Regions from separate parts of the Homo sapiens genome. Here region 1 is linked to region 2. The links are contacts of gene promoters, found by promoter capture Hi-C in blood cells and fetal thymus (Javierre and others, 2016). All regions are on one chromosome and are shown on one strand. Each heading gives the region's core, a stretch centred on a gene start or on the middle of the fragment in contact. The rest is flanking DNA. Distances are from core to core; before and after follow the strand shown.

Evidence for each region. The method cuts DNA at HindIII sites, captures the fragments that hold promoters and counts their contacts. A CHiCAGO score of 5 or more calls a contact.
Region 1: the fragment with the promoter of TMEM170B here is called in contact with the fragment with the promoter of EEF1E1 in region 2 in 2 of 17 cell types (total CD8 T cells and non-activated CD4 T cells); the score reaches 6.7 in total CD8 T cells.

What each region holds. Positions count from the first base shown.
Region 1 is chr6:11,536,267-11,542,432 of GRCh38, reverse strand. It overlaps TMEM170B (transmembrane protein 170B), which reads right to left and starts at 4,684. Exons shown (of 3, transcript NM_001100829.3): 1 at 4,059-4,684. The coding sequence starts at 4,155. RefSeq lists silencers at 3,731-4,010, 4,021-4,100, 4,201-4,360, 4,391-5,220 and an enhancer at 3,890-4,391. The HindIII fragment of the contact is 5,632 bases long and covers 1,236-6,166 here.
Region 2 is chr6:8,099,364-8,104,924 of GRCh38, reverse strand. EEF1E1 (eukaryotic translation elongation factor 1 epsilon 1) reads left to right here and starts at 2,377. Exons shown (of 4, transcript NM_004280.5): 1 at 2,377-2,490. The coding sequence starts at 2,404. It overlaps EEF1E1-BLOC1S5 (EEF1E1-BLOC1S5 readthrough (NMD candidate)), which reads left to right and starts at 2,330. Exons shown (of 7, transcript NR_037618.1): 1 at 2,330-2,490. RefSeq lists silencers at 2,125-2,324, 2,465-2,584, 2,793-2,978. The HindIII fragment of the contact is 8,997 bases long and covers 1-5,561 here.

The sequences.
Region 1 (6,166 bases), core at 3,435-5,934, 3.4 Mb before region 2:
CAAGTATTAAGATCATATTGAAAGACATATTGGAGCTAACCCTGGATGAATAACTACTATTATCAGCTTAATGGTTGACTTGCAGAACTGGAGGCAATTATAATCATTAGAATCTTACTTATTTAAAAATATTGTTGAAGCTGGCCAGGAGTTAAGTTACATTTACATTTACTCTATGGCTCCCAAAGCTAACTTTCTCTAAAAACCCTTTGATGAGCTAATCCAGTGATTAATATCTACAGGCATACCTTGTTTTATTGTACTTCACTTTATTTTGGCTTTTACAAATGGTAAGTTTGAGGCAACTCTGTGTCAAGCAAGTCTATCAGTACCATTTTTCCAACAGCATGGGCTCACTTTGTGTCACATTTTGGTAATTCTAACAATATTTCAAATTTTATTATCTTATTATTATTTTATTATTGTATTTTATTATTATAGTGATCTGTGATAAGTGATCTCTGATGTTACTATTTTACTCGATAATTTACTCGATAAATCTTGTGTGTTCTCACTGCTCCACCAACCAGCCATTCCTCAGTCTCTCTCCCTCTCCTCGGGTTTCCCTATTCCCTGAGATACAACAATATTGAAATCAGGCCAACTAATAATCCTACATTGGCCTCTGAGTGTTCAAGTGAAAAAAAGAGTCAGATATCTCACTTTAAATCAAGTGCTAGAGATGATAAAGCTTAATGAGGAAGGCACGTTCAAAGATGAGTTAGGCTGAAAGCTAGGCCTCTCGTACCAAACAGCCAAGTTGCAAATGCAAAGAAAAATTCTTAAAGGAAATTAAAAGTGTTACACTAGTGAACACACAAATCATAAGAAAGCAAAACAGACTGCTCTCTGATATGAAGAAAGTTTGAGTGGTCTAAATAGAAGATGAAACCAGCTACAACACTCCCCTAAGCCAAAGCCTAACCCAGAGAAAGACCCCAACTCTCTTCAATTCCATGCAGGCTGGGATGTGAGAAAGCTGCAAAAGAAAGTTTGATACTAGCAGATGTCAGTTCTTTAGGTTTAACAAAAGACACCTCTATAACATAAAAGTGCAAGGTGAAGCAGCAAATGCTGATGTAGAAGCACAAATTATCCAGAAGATCTAGCTAACTGATGAAGGTGGCTACCCCAAACAACAGATATTCCATGTAGATTAAACAGCCTTATATCAGAAGAAGATGCCATTTAGGACTTGCACAGCTAGAGAGAAGTCAATCCCTGACTTCCAAGCTTCAAAGGACAGGCTGACTCTTCTTAGGAGCTAATGCAGCTGGTGACTTTATATTAAAGCCAATGCTCATTTACCATTCTGGCGCCCTTGAGAATTATGCTAAATCTACCCTGGCTGTGCTCTATAAATGAAACAAAAAAGCCTGGATGACAGTACATCAGTTTACAGCACGGCCTACTGAATATGTGAAGCCCACTGTTGAGAACTGCTCAGAAAAAAAAAAGATTCCTTTCATTTTAATGAGTATTTTCTTCAATGACAATGTACCTGGTCAACCAAGAGCTGTGATGGAGATGTCCAAGTAGATCAATGTTGTTTTCATGACTGCTAACACAACATCCATTCTGCAGACCATGGATCAAAGAGTAATTTTGACTTTCTAGTCTTATTATTTAAGAAATACACTGTGTAAGAAGGCTAAAACTGCCAGAGATAGTGATTCCTCTGATGGACCTGGGCAAAGGAAATTGAAAACCTTCTGGAAAGGAGTCACCATTCCAGATGCCCTTAAGAACAATCGTGACTCATGAGAAGAGGTCCAAATATCAACTTTCATAGGAGTTGGAAAGCAATTGACTCCATTCCTCATGGATGACTTTGAGGGGATCAACACTTTAGTGGAGGAAGTAACCATAGGTGTGGTCGAAATAGCAAGAGAACTAGAATTAGAAGTGGAGCCTGAAGATGTGACTGAATTGTTGCAATCTCATGATAAAGTTTGAATGGATGAGGAGTTGCTTCTTATGGATGAGCAAAGAAAGTGGTTTCTTGAGATGCAATCTACTCCTGGTGAAGATCATGTGAACACCGTGGAAATGACAACAAAGGATTTAGACTATTAGATAAACTCGGTTGATAAAGCCGCAGCAGGGTTTGAAAGGACTGACTCCAATTTTGAAAGTTCTACTGTGGATAAAATGCTACCCAACAGCATCCCATGCTACAGAGAAATCTTTCATGAAAGGAAGAGTCTATTGCTCTTCCTTAGTGGCAAACTTCATTGCTGTTTTAAGAAAACTGCCATCATCCCAATCTCCAGCAATCATCACCTTGATCAGTCAGCAGTCATCAACACAAAGACAAGACCCTCTACCAGAAAAAAGATAACGTCCTTGCTGAAGGCTCAGATGATCGTTAGCAATTTTTCAGCAATAAAGTATTTTTAAATTAACGTCTGTACTTTTTTTTCAGACATAATGCTATTTCACATTTAAAGACTACAGGTAAAATGTAACTTTTACATGCACTAGGAAAACAAAAAATTCATTTGGCTCACTTTATTGCAATATTTGCTTTATTGTGGTGTTCTGGAACCAAACCTGCAATCTTTCCAAGGTATGCCTGCACAAATATATGTTAAGTCCCTACTTTTCATTTCACTTAAACAAAAACTGGTACAGTTCAAATACCAAACAGTGGATAAATGCAAGCAAAATCATAAGTAAGATAAAGCAGTCTACCTCTAAATTCAACTGAATCATGAGATGGTCTTTATGTCCATTTAGTTTTCCAGAATTATAACAATATATTCCTTACCGGCAATCATCATGTAAAGTCAGTCTGTTTCAAGTTAAATAACCACAGCTTAAAAGTGAGGATAGCATGAAGCAATCCAGAATCTACTTTAACTGTATAGTTTCCATTCGAAGAAACCAGTGTCCTTAAAGTTGTCTTTTGTGGTATATAATTCCATAAAATTTTCTTCTATGAATGTTTGTATTCTATACCATGCCAGACTTTATATATATGTTATATATATGAACCCAGGTTATATTTGTAAAATACTCACAACACTTTAACCAGTTTGACAAAATGCATTTTGAAATACTAATGTTCTACTGAAATTAACTGCCTTACACATTTTCAAGAATTAAATTCTGAGTATTTTTTTAAGATTTTTTTCCTCTGAAAAGCAGGCACTGAGGAGTCACCAAATCGCAACTGAATCTCTTTCTCGTAAATTCTACTTCAGAGAATAATTTTTAAATTCGGAACTCAAAGTATAATGTAAGCATTTCCACATAACAAAACCAGAAGTTTCTTCACAAAGCAAATCTACAGACTGAATAAAAATATTGTGTGTTTTATCACTCACTTTTACAAATAGAAATTGATGTTATAAGGCCAATTACTGACAGCCTTAATAAATGAAGGGAAATACACAAAATTATCAAATGTCTCAGAAGCAGCAGCTGGAGGCCTGAGGGAAAGAGACAGACAGACAAAAGGAAATGGGAGGGGAAGGAGATATATGAAGCTAACACGCTTAGACCGCACTAGACCTTAGCTCAGCCCCTGACCCACTATAATTTACTCAGTTATCTACATCGCCCAAAAAATTAGCGGTTGAAAAAGTAAATCGACCATTGTGGGCAATGATTTTAGGTTCTACATTTGGCTTGAGATTTGCCAGAAAGAAAAAGAACTAAATCAGAAAAAGATGTAAATAGCAAGAAGCGATGTGTGTAGAAGGGGGAGGGGAGGAGGGTAATGGAATAAAAGCGAAATGCGCTCAAGTCTCAGCACTAAAGCTACTCCGCGCGTACTACAGAGGCCGGGCCGCCACCGGGAGCTCTCCCCGTGCGGGGCAGGAGCGGGGGTCGCTGATGCTCCCCTGGCGACTCAGGGAAGGGGGTGGCGGGAGCCGGCGCCCCCGGGACACGCGCAGAGTGGCTCCGATTAACACCTTCCTCGCCGGGACCTGGAGCTCCGAGCGGGGCGCGCACGGGGGTGGGGCGGCGAGGAGCGTGTCCCCTCCCGAGGAAGGAGAAGACAGGAGAGGGGCGGACCGCATCCCCGTCCCCAGCCCAGGCGCGTCAATTACCCGTGAGGTTCCTCAGCACCGTCCCGTGGGCCCAGAGGCTCAGGACCTGCTGCACCGACAGGTTGATCATGGAGTGGTCGCCCCCCTCCGCCTTCATCTTCCCCGAGGGGCGCCCGCCGCCCTCTCCTCGGGTGCCGGGCGGCGGCGGCGGCTGCGAGGCTCGGGGGGCGGCGGCGGGTGCGCGGCTCCTCCAGGCCGCCGCCGCTGGTGGAGGCTGCGGGACGCCGGGCCGGGCGCTGCTGCTGCTGCAGCCGGAGGGCCTCCGTGGGGGGGCCGCTCAGCGTGTCTCCCAGGCAGCCCCCTCCCCGCCGGGGAGACATTGAGGACGGCGGACGGAGGAAGGAGGGGAGGGGGCCGGGCGCCGTCCTCGCGCGGCCCCCGAGCGAGGACTCGGGGCGGAGGAGGCCGCCGCCGCTCCCTCTCAGGGGCAGCGCCGCGCCGCGGGGACTGGACACGCGAGGAGGCCGAGGTCACGCCAGGAGGCCGGTGCTGATGGGCAGCCGGCAGGTGCAGCCCCCGACAGGGCCCAGCTCATCGCCGCCGGAGGACGGAGACGCGGGACCAGCCAGAGGCTGCGGCGGCACCTGCCGCCCGCCTGCCCGCCCTCGGGTCGCCGACACTCGAGGAACCGCCCCCTCCACCCGCAGCCGCCGGCGGGCCACTCGTGCACGCGCACGCGCGCGCCTCTCAGCGCCGGCCCCTCCTCCCCTGCGCTCCCCGGAGCCGCTGCGCATGCTCACTCCCCCGCTCCCCGCGACCCGCCGCCCTCCAACAGCCGGTCGGCCCCAAAGCCCTCCTTCTCGCTCTCCCCTCGCGCTGCAGCGCGCGTGGCTGACGGCGCCGAGCGACGGCCCGCAGTGGGGCGGAGGGAAGCGCGGTCTACGTCACTGGCGCCACCGCCGGGCCTTACTGCTGATTGGGCGCTCCAAGGGAACCGCCTCCACGCCCCCCACCCCCGGACCCCGGGCGCGCGCCCTGAGAGACCGGGAGACCTGGATCCCTCGCCCTGGCCCGGCTGGGTGCGCGCGGTGCGGGCGGCGTGGGCGGTGCGGGCATTTCGGGGGCCCGCGCTGCAGGGGCAGCCCTGACCCAAGGTGGGGCTGCTGAACTCGGTGAGGTGGATACTGTGACAGTTCAGATTTTTGCCTTAAAATGTAATGCTTTTTGATAAAGATGCTTATGTATAACTTTTTTAAAAAGGTGTCACTATCTCAGCATTTAGATATATTAATTTGCGGGGTTTTTTTTCTGAGCCTGAATCGAATGACCTGGATAGGTCACTTACTTGCAGAATGCATGTTAAAACCCCTAAAACACAAACAGACCTGCGTTATCATTCTGCTAATCCCTCTTCCCGCAGCAAGAACTTGGGCCTCCCGGGGTTCCAGGACCTGCCTGACATTACCTGTTTACTCCAGGCTCGGCAGGTGTCCTAATCCTCAAGGCCATCGCCGGCTCTAGCCCCCCTTTTTTTGATGGTAGTATTCTTTTATCTAAGTTGCGTCTGTTATTTTTTTCCCTCGAACTTAAACTAGATCTCTCTCCCCACGCTTTGCTGTCTGTCTTCATGTCCAGCGTTAGCCAGAGGAGCATCTAAAATCCAACTACAAGTTAAACTCCTCGAAATTGGAAACCTTCTAACTTTAAAAAATAAAAATTTAAGTTTTAGCAGTAACATAAATATGCAGTAGCCAGCCCCTCCCCCCACCTTTTTTCAACCCCTCTGCCATCTGGATAAAGAAAAATTTACAAAGAGAAGTGAAGAAATACCTGCTGTAGCTAAATCATGAAGTATATTTGACAAAGCACTGAAGGGTCAAATTACCTGTCAAATGGTGCTCTTGGTGACCACTTTAAAATAATATTTACATACACATTTATTTCTTTGTTTATTTGTATTTTCTTTTTGATGTCACAACATAAGAGAAATTTTTGCACCATTAATAGGAATTGAGCCAAAACTCTTAATGTAGAGTTTATCTTCCTCCTAGAATTTAGACTTAATTAGATCTATTAACAAGATTACAGAATATCAAACCTAAAAGAGCGCTTTAACATTTTTCTAATTTTATTTTACAGATAGGGAAACAGATTCTGTGAATTAAGTG
Region 2 (5,561 bases), core at 1,128-3,627:
TTTTTATGATGTGAATAGCTATTGATAATTGTCACCTAGATTCATTATTATATCCGTAGCTGCAAAACAATAATATTCTATTGTTCTGTTTTTATTAGTTAGAATTCTATAAAGACATTTTTCCTCATTAGAGTTTAGTTTCCCTGAGATACAGTTTACATAGGATAATCATGAAAAAATATATTGGTTTCTTCATGTGTTTTCTTTATCCTTTTTCAAAATAATGAATTGGATCTCTAGTATCCTCCAAAGGTAACGAATGAGGGTTATTTTGATTTTGTTCTTGTTTTTTTTTTAGTATCATTATGAACTCATAGACTTAAACATATTCAACATGTTTCAATTCATTGCAATTATTCTTATCGACTCTCAGCTTGTAATGACTATTATTGACCCTCAAGTGATCTGATCCTACCCTTTGACTCCCCTCATTACTCTTAGATACTTTCTTTTCTTTCTACTATAACTAGATGGTCCAGACTGATCTCCCCGCAAGGTTTGGATTCAGCCGGTCTCCAAAGAGCCCCCATTTCTTTTTGTGGGAAATAGTATTTGAAACCAGAATCTGGGTGCTGGGGTGCTCATTGCTACTGAGTTGTCCTTGTTTCTAGGCCTTTTAAGTAAACAGAGCTAGGTAGGAAATACTTTTCATTTTCCTTAAGATAAAAGCGTCATAAGTTCATATTGATATTACAATTCAAATTCAGGACCAGAAAGTTTTGATTTAACCTCATCTACCTTACAACTCCTCTTTTGGGCAACACCAAACACCCAACTTTCCAGCAACACCACATGATTGCATCTTTGCTTTATTCCACAGTACATATACAGCACCATACCAATGCTGACACTGCCAAGATGCTAACCAAACCAACAAACAAAAAGAACCAAAAACAGGTTTTCATGAATTTTGTCCTTAAAGCATATCTTACTAAGAGTATACAATTAAATGACTGTGCTATAAAGTCACTTAAAAGAGGTCCACACTGGGTGATGATGTCATCAATTTGATGTACAATATGCTTTGTTCTGCTTTCAGTTTTTTAGGGATTTCTTTTTTAATTTGATATTTCTATAATTATGCAAAGGCCAAACCTTATTTTCAATATACCACCCATTGGCATTGGATAAATGTTAATTTTTTTAAAAAATGTTTTATTACAAGCAAAAAGTGTACCTAAACCCTGAAAATGGATATGTGAATTATCTTAGAGGGTTGGTCTTTTAAAAAGTAGTAGAATAGTCATTCCATTATCTGAATATGGAAAGTAAAACAGATAATTTAGTGCCTAACAATCCACTTATACTGAAATTTCTTTTGTATTTTGTTATGTTGATTTGGCAAAAGTTTCTTTTCCTTATGTTTACTTCTGCTGACAGAGTAAACTCATTAAGTATTCTGGGATAGGGAAGGTGTAACACAGTAACAACATTCCCCACTAAACTTTGATATTTCTGATTCAATGATGAGTTACCTTGTAGGATTGTTCTATTTCTCTCAGACTAATACACACTTTGTTTATTCATTCTTCAAAGTGGAAAATATTTTGTATTTTCACAAATCTTTTGGAAATATTCAACATATACTACTAATTTTCTTTCTTTCTTCCTTTCTTTCTTTTTTGAAGATACAAGAATGTAGCAAGTTAGTGGGGCAAAGTTATGCACCTTGTTTATTTATATACCAAAACTTCATAAATTATGTAACCAGCCTTCTGGTACTGCAAAAAAAGATCATTAATGCCATTAATGGCTTATTTCCTTGAGCTGTAATTATTTGACCCCTATCTGACATACTCCGTGTTCTGTGAATAATCTTTAAATGTATAATTCTACTGCTAGTGTTGAGCTGTAGATCAACAGTAGAAAAACCAGTTTTTCGAATTCACCACTACAACACAATTAAAATCCTCATGAATTATGCTACACGTTAGAAACTCCTAATGGACTGTGAACTTTTTGCTATTCAATTTGATTGTTCAAATTTACAGATTCCTGAACCAAACTAAGGCAAATTTCAGTTCCCATCATATATAAATTCTCTTAGACTAGCAAATGAGTTAACGAGTTACCGCTGGCAGCCATGTCAATAGATTGCCATTTAGAGATCCAGATCCAGTCTACTGCAGCCACCGAAGCCCGGCCTTGGGGCCTTTCTACCAGTAACTAGCTCCCCAACAGTTCGAGTGGAAATTTACCATCACTTCTCCACCTGTCTCACACCCCGCCCTCAGCCCCGCCCCTTCCACCGGCCCCGCCTCCTGTGCTTTGGCGCGCGCTCTCCACGCCCCTTCCGTTCAGCCAATCGCCGCTGAAGTTTGCAGGAGTGGGACTTCTGTTTCCACCAATGCGGGAGGTTCTTGTTCTGCAGGTCTCGCGTCTGCCAGGAGCTACGGCCGGAAGATGGCGGCGGCCGCAGAGTTGTCGCTACTGGAGAAGTCCCTGGGACTGAGTAAGGGGAATAAATACAGTGCTCAGGGCGAGCGACAGGTGAGAAGGAGAGGCGGCGCGGAGGGGAAGAGGTGGACGGGAGCGGGGCCTGCCGAGCCCTGGCAGGACCCGGGCCGGCCACCAGATACGGGCGGAGTGAGGATGCTGCTACCCAGCTCCCCACGTGTCTGCGCCGCTAGCCGGCTGGCGCCTCTGGGCCTCGGCCCCTGCCATCCTACCTCCTGGAGGGAGGGGTTAACCAGCTCAGGTTGGGCTTGGCCTGAACTTCACCTCCTGGGAAATTGTCATCATCCCATTATGAGGAAACAAAACCAGTTGGAGGAGGGTCCTCACAGGGCTCTTAGACCAACCTGGAATGTATTCAGTAACTGGCTTTTTTTTTTTTCCCGTAATCGCACCTTTCATTCAGTTATTGCGCAGCGACTCCGTTATAGCTAACAGGGTGCCAGGTAGCACCGTGCTGGGTCTGGGGAATACAATGATGATTTAGGGGAACATGCTTCCTCCTCTCAGGCAGCTTGCTTTTTGGCCAGGTGGACAAACATTGCAACCATTTAAATTGGAAGAGTGCCACGTTGCACCATAAATGGCAGAGAGAACACCTAAGGAGTCTTGGCCCAATCTAGGGGATTCGGGGAAGGCGTTTCTAAAGCCTTGGATTATCAGTTTAAGTGTTACGACCCACAGTGAATGCGGGAAACATCACAAGGTATGAGATTGCCTGGTTAGGCACTGTTAGAACGTTTGTGTTTTATAGTTGTTTGTCGTAGAAGGAATGTATTAGAGAAGGAAATTGGTTGTAGGAAGACTACTTTGGATATATGTTTTTTTTGCTCCTTTGAGATTTTTTCCAAATGATGTTTGGTTTTTGTCTTTAATTTTTTCTCTTCTTCATTTGGTCCATGTGAAGATCTTGTCTAGAAAGTAGTAGTATAGTTTTTATTTAAGTTAACCTGAAGCCTAGAAAGGTTAAGTGTTCAGCCTAAGATCAGCCCTGTGATTGGTGGCAGAGTAGGCGTTGGAGCCAAAGTGGCCTTCTTTTGGTGTTTCCTCTGCCCCAGTGATAATTCCGTCCCTTCGGCCCCTACTCCCTAGCTTAGTGTATATATTATATAATATATATGTAGTATAAATATAATATATATGGCCGAGTGGACAAACATTGCAACCGTTTAAATTGGAAGAGTGCCATATATATATATATATATATATATATATATATATATATATTTTTTTTTTTTTTTTTTTGAGACAAAGTCTCACTGTGTCGCCCAGGCTGTAGTGCCATGGCATGATCTCGGATCACTGCAACCTCTGCCTCCCGGGTTCAAGCGATTCTTCTGCTTCAGCCTCCCAAGTAGCTGGGGTTACAGGTGTTCGCCACCACGCTCAGCTAATTTTTGTATTTTTAGTAGAGACCGGGTTGCACCATGTTGGCCAGGCTGGTCTTGAACTGGTGACCTCAGGTGATCCACATGCCCTGGCCTCCTAAAGTGCTGGGATTACAGGCGTGAACCACTGTGCCTGGCCTAGTTTATATTTTTTAGGGACCATTGCCAAGATATGAGTATTATCTAGTATGAGAAACAATCATCAGCAAATAATTTAAAGCACAACATAGTAAGCACTTCATGGACTGTCGTGGGTGAGCAGCAACTCTCTGGGGCTGGTGGCGCCAGGGTAAGAATTTACCAGGACAGCTGTACGTAAAGAAAAGCAGATTTATTAGAGAAAGTATGAAAATATGTTGCAAGAGTGCAACAGGCAAGTTAGTAAGAGAGGAGCTAACTGCAAGGAAACAAAGGCTGGCTGGGGATTTTACGGAATAGTACTTCAGTTGTGTGCTGAAGAGGGGTTTGTGCAGTACTGATAACACCAAGGTTGCAGTGAGCTAACTTGAGTTTTCTATCAGCCGAAGGTCCGGTGATAGCTGGACATGGAAAGATTGTTGAGTTATTTGTGCAGAAGGGCTGTGTCCTGGACCATGAAGAAAGGCAGACTTGTAGCTTATCGCCCTTCTCTTTTTGCTTTCCCTTGGTCCCCTCAACCTGACTTCTTTTCCCTAATTAGGACTCCATATGGAGCAAAACACTGTTGAGGAGTGTGAAAAAGGAAGTTAATTCTGACTATAAAAGTGGATGTATAAACTCATGGAAGAGCTGGCATTTAAGGGATTATGCTTTGAAAGATGTGTAAAACCAATAAATTATGAAGGATTGGGAAGTTTAGGGCAGTAAGTAAACCAATATGAGGAATGATGCAATGCAAGGTAAACCCCAAATTACAGTTTGAGGCCCAACTGTGAAGACTTCCGAGTTCAGAGTGTGGTTTTTAATTTAATTTTAATTAAAGCATTTTAGCAGTTAGCAGCTAGTGAAAGTTTCTGTTTACTTGTATGGGGAAAGGGTTGGCCATATGTGATAAGATTCAGCCATTTTTTGAGAAGACAGCTGACAGCAGTGAGCCAGCAATAAGGCATTCTCTGCAACATTACCAATCATAGTTTAAAAATTGAAAGCAGTTCAGAGATCCTTATCTAGGATATTGATTCTTTAAATTATGGTACATCAACACATTGACATACAGTCACGTGTTATTTAAAGACAAGGATACATTTCAAGAAATGCATTGTTAGGCAGTTTCATCATGTGTGAACATTATAGAGGGTTCTGTTTTTTTTTTGTGTGTGTGTGTGTGTGTGTGTGTGTGTGTGTGTGTGTGTTTTTGAGGCGGAGCTTCACTCTTGTTGCCCGGGCTGGAGTGCAATGGTGCGATCTCGGCTCACTGCAACCTCTGCCTCCCGGATTCAAGGGATTCTCCTGCCTCAGCCTCCCGTGTAGCAGGGATTACAGGCATGTGCCACCACGCCCGGCTAATTTTTGTATTTTTAGTAGAGACGGGGTTTCTCCGTGTTGGTTAGGCTAGTCTCATACTCCCGACCTCAGGTGATCCGCCCACCTCAGCCTCCCAAAGTGCTGGGATTACAGGCGTGAGCCACTGCGCCCAGCCTTAGAGTGTTCTTAAACCTAGATAGTTTATCCTACTTCACAAATAGTAGGTATATGATATAGCCTATTGCTCCTTCAGGCTACAAACCTGTACCGCATGTT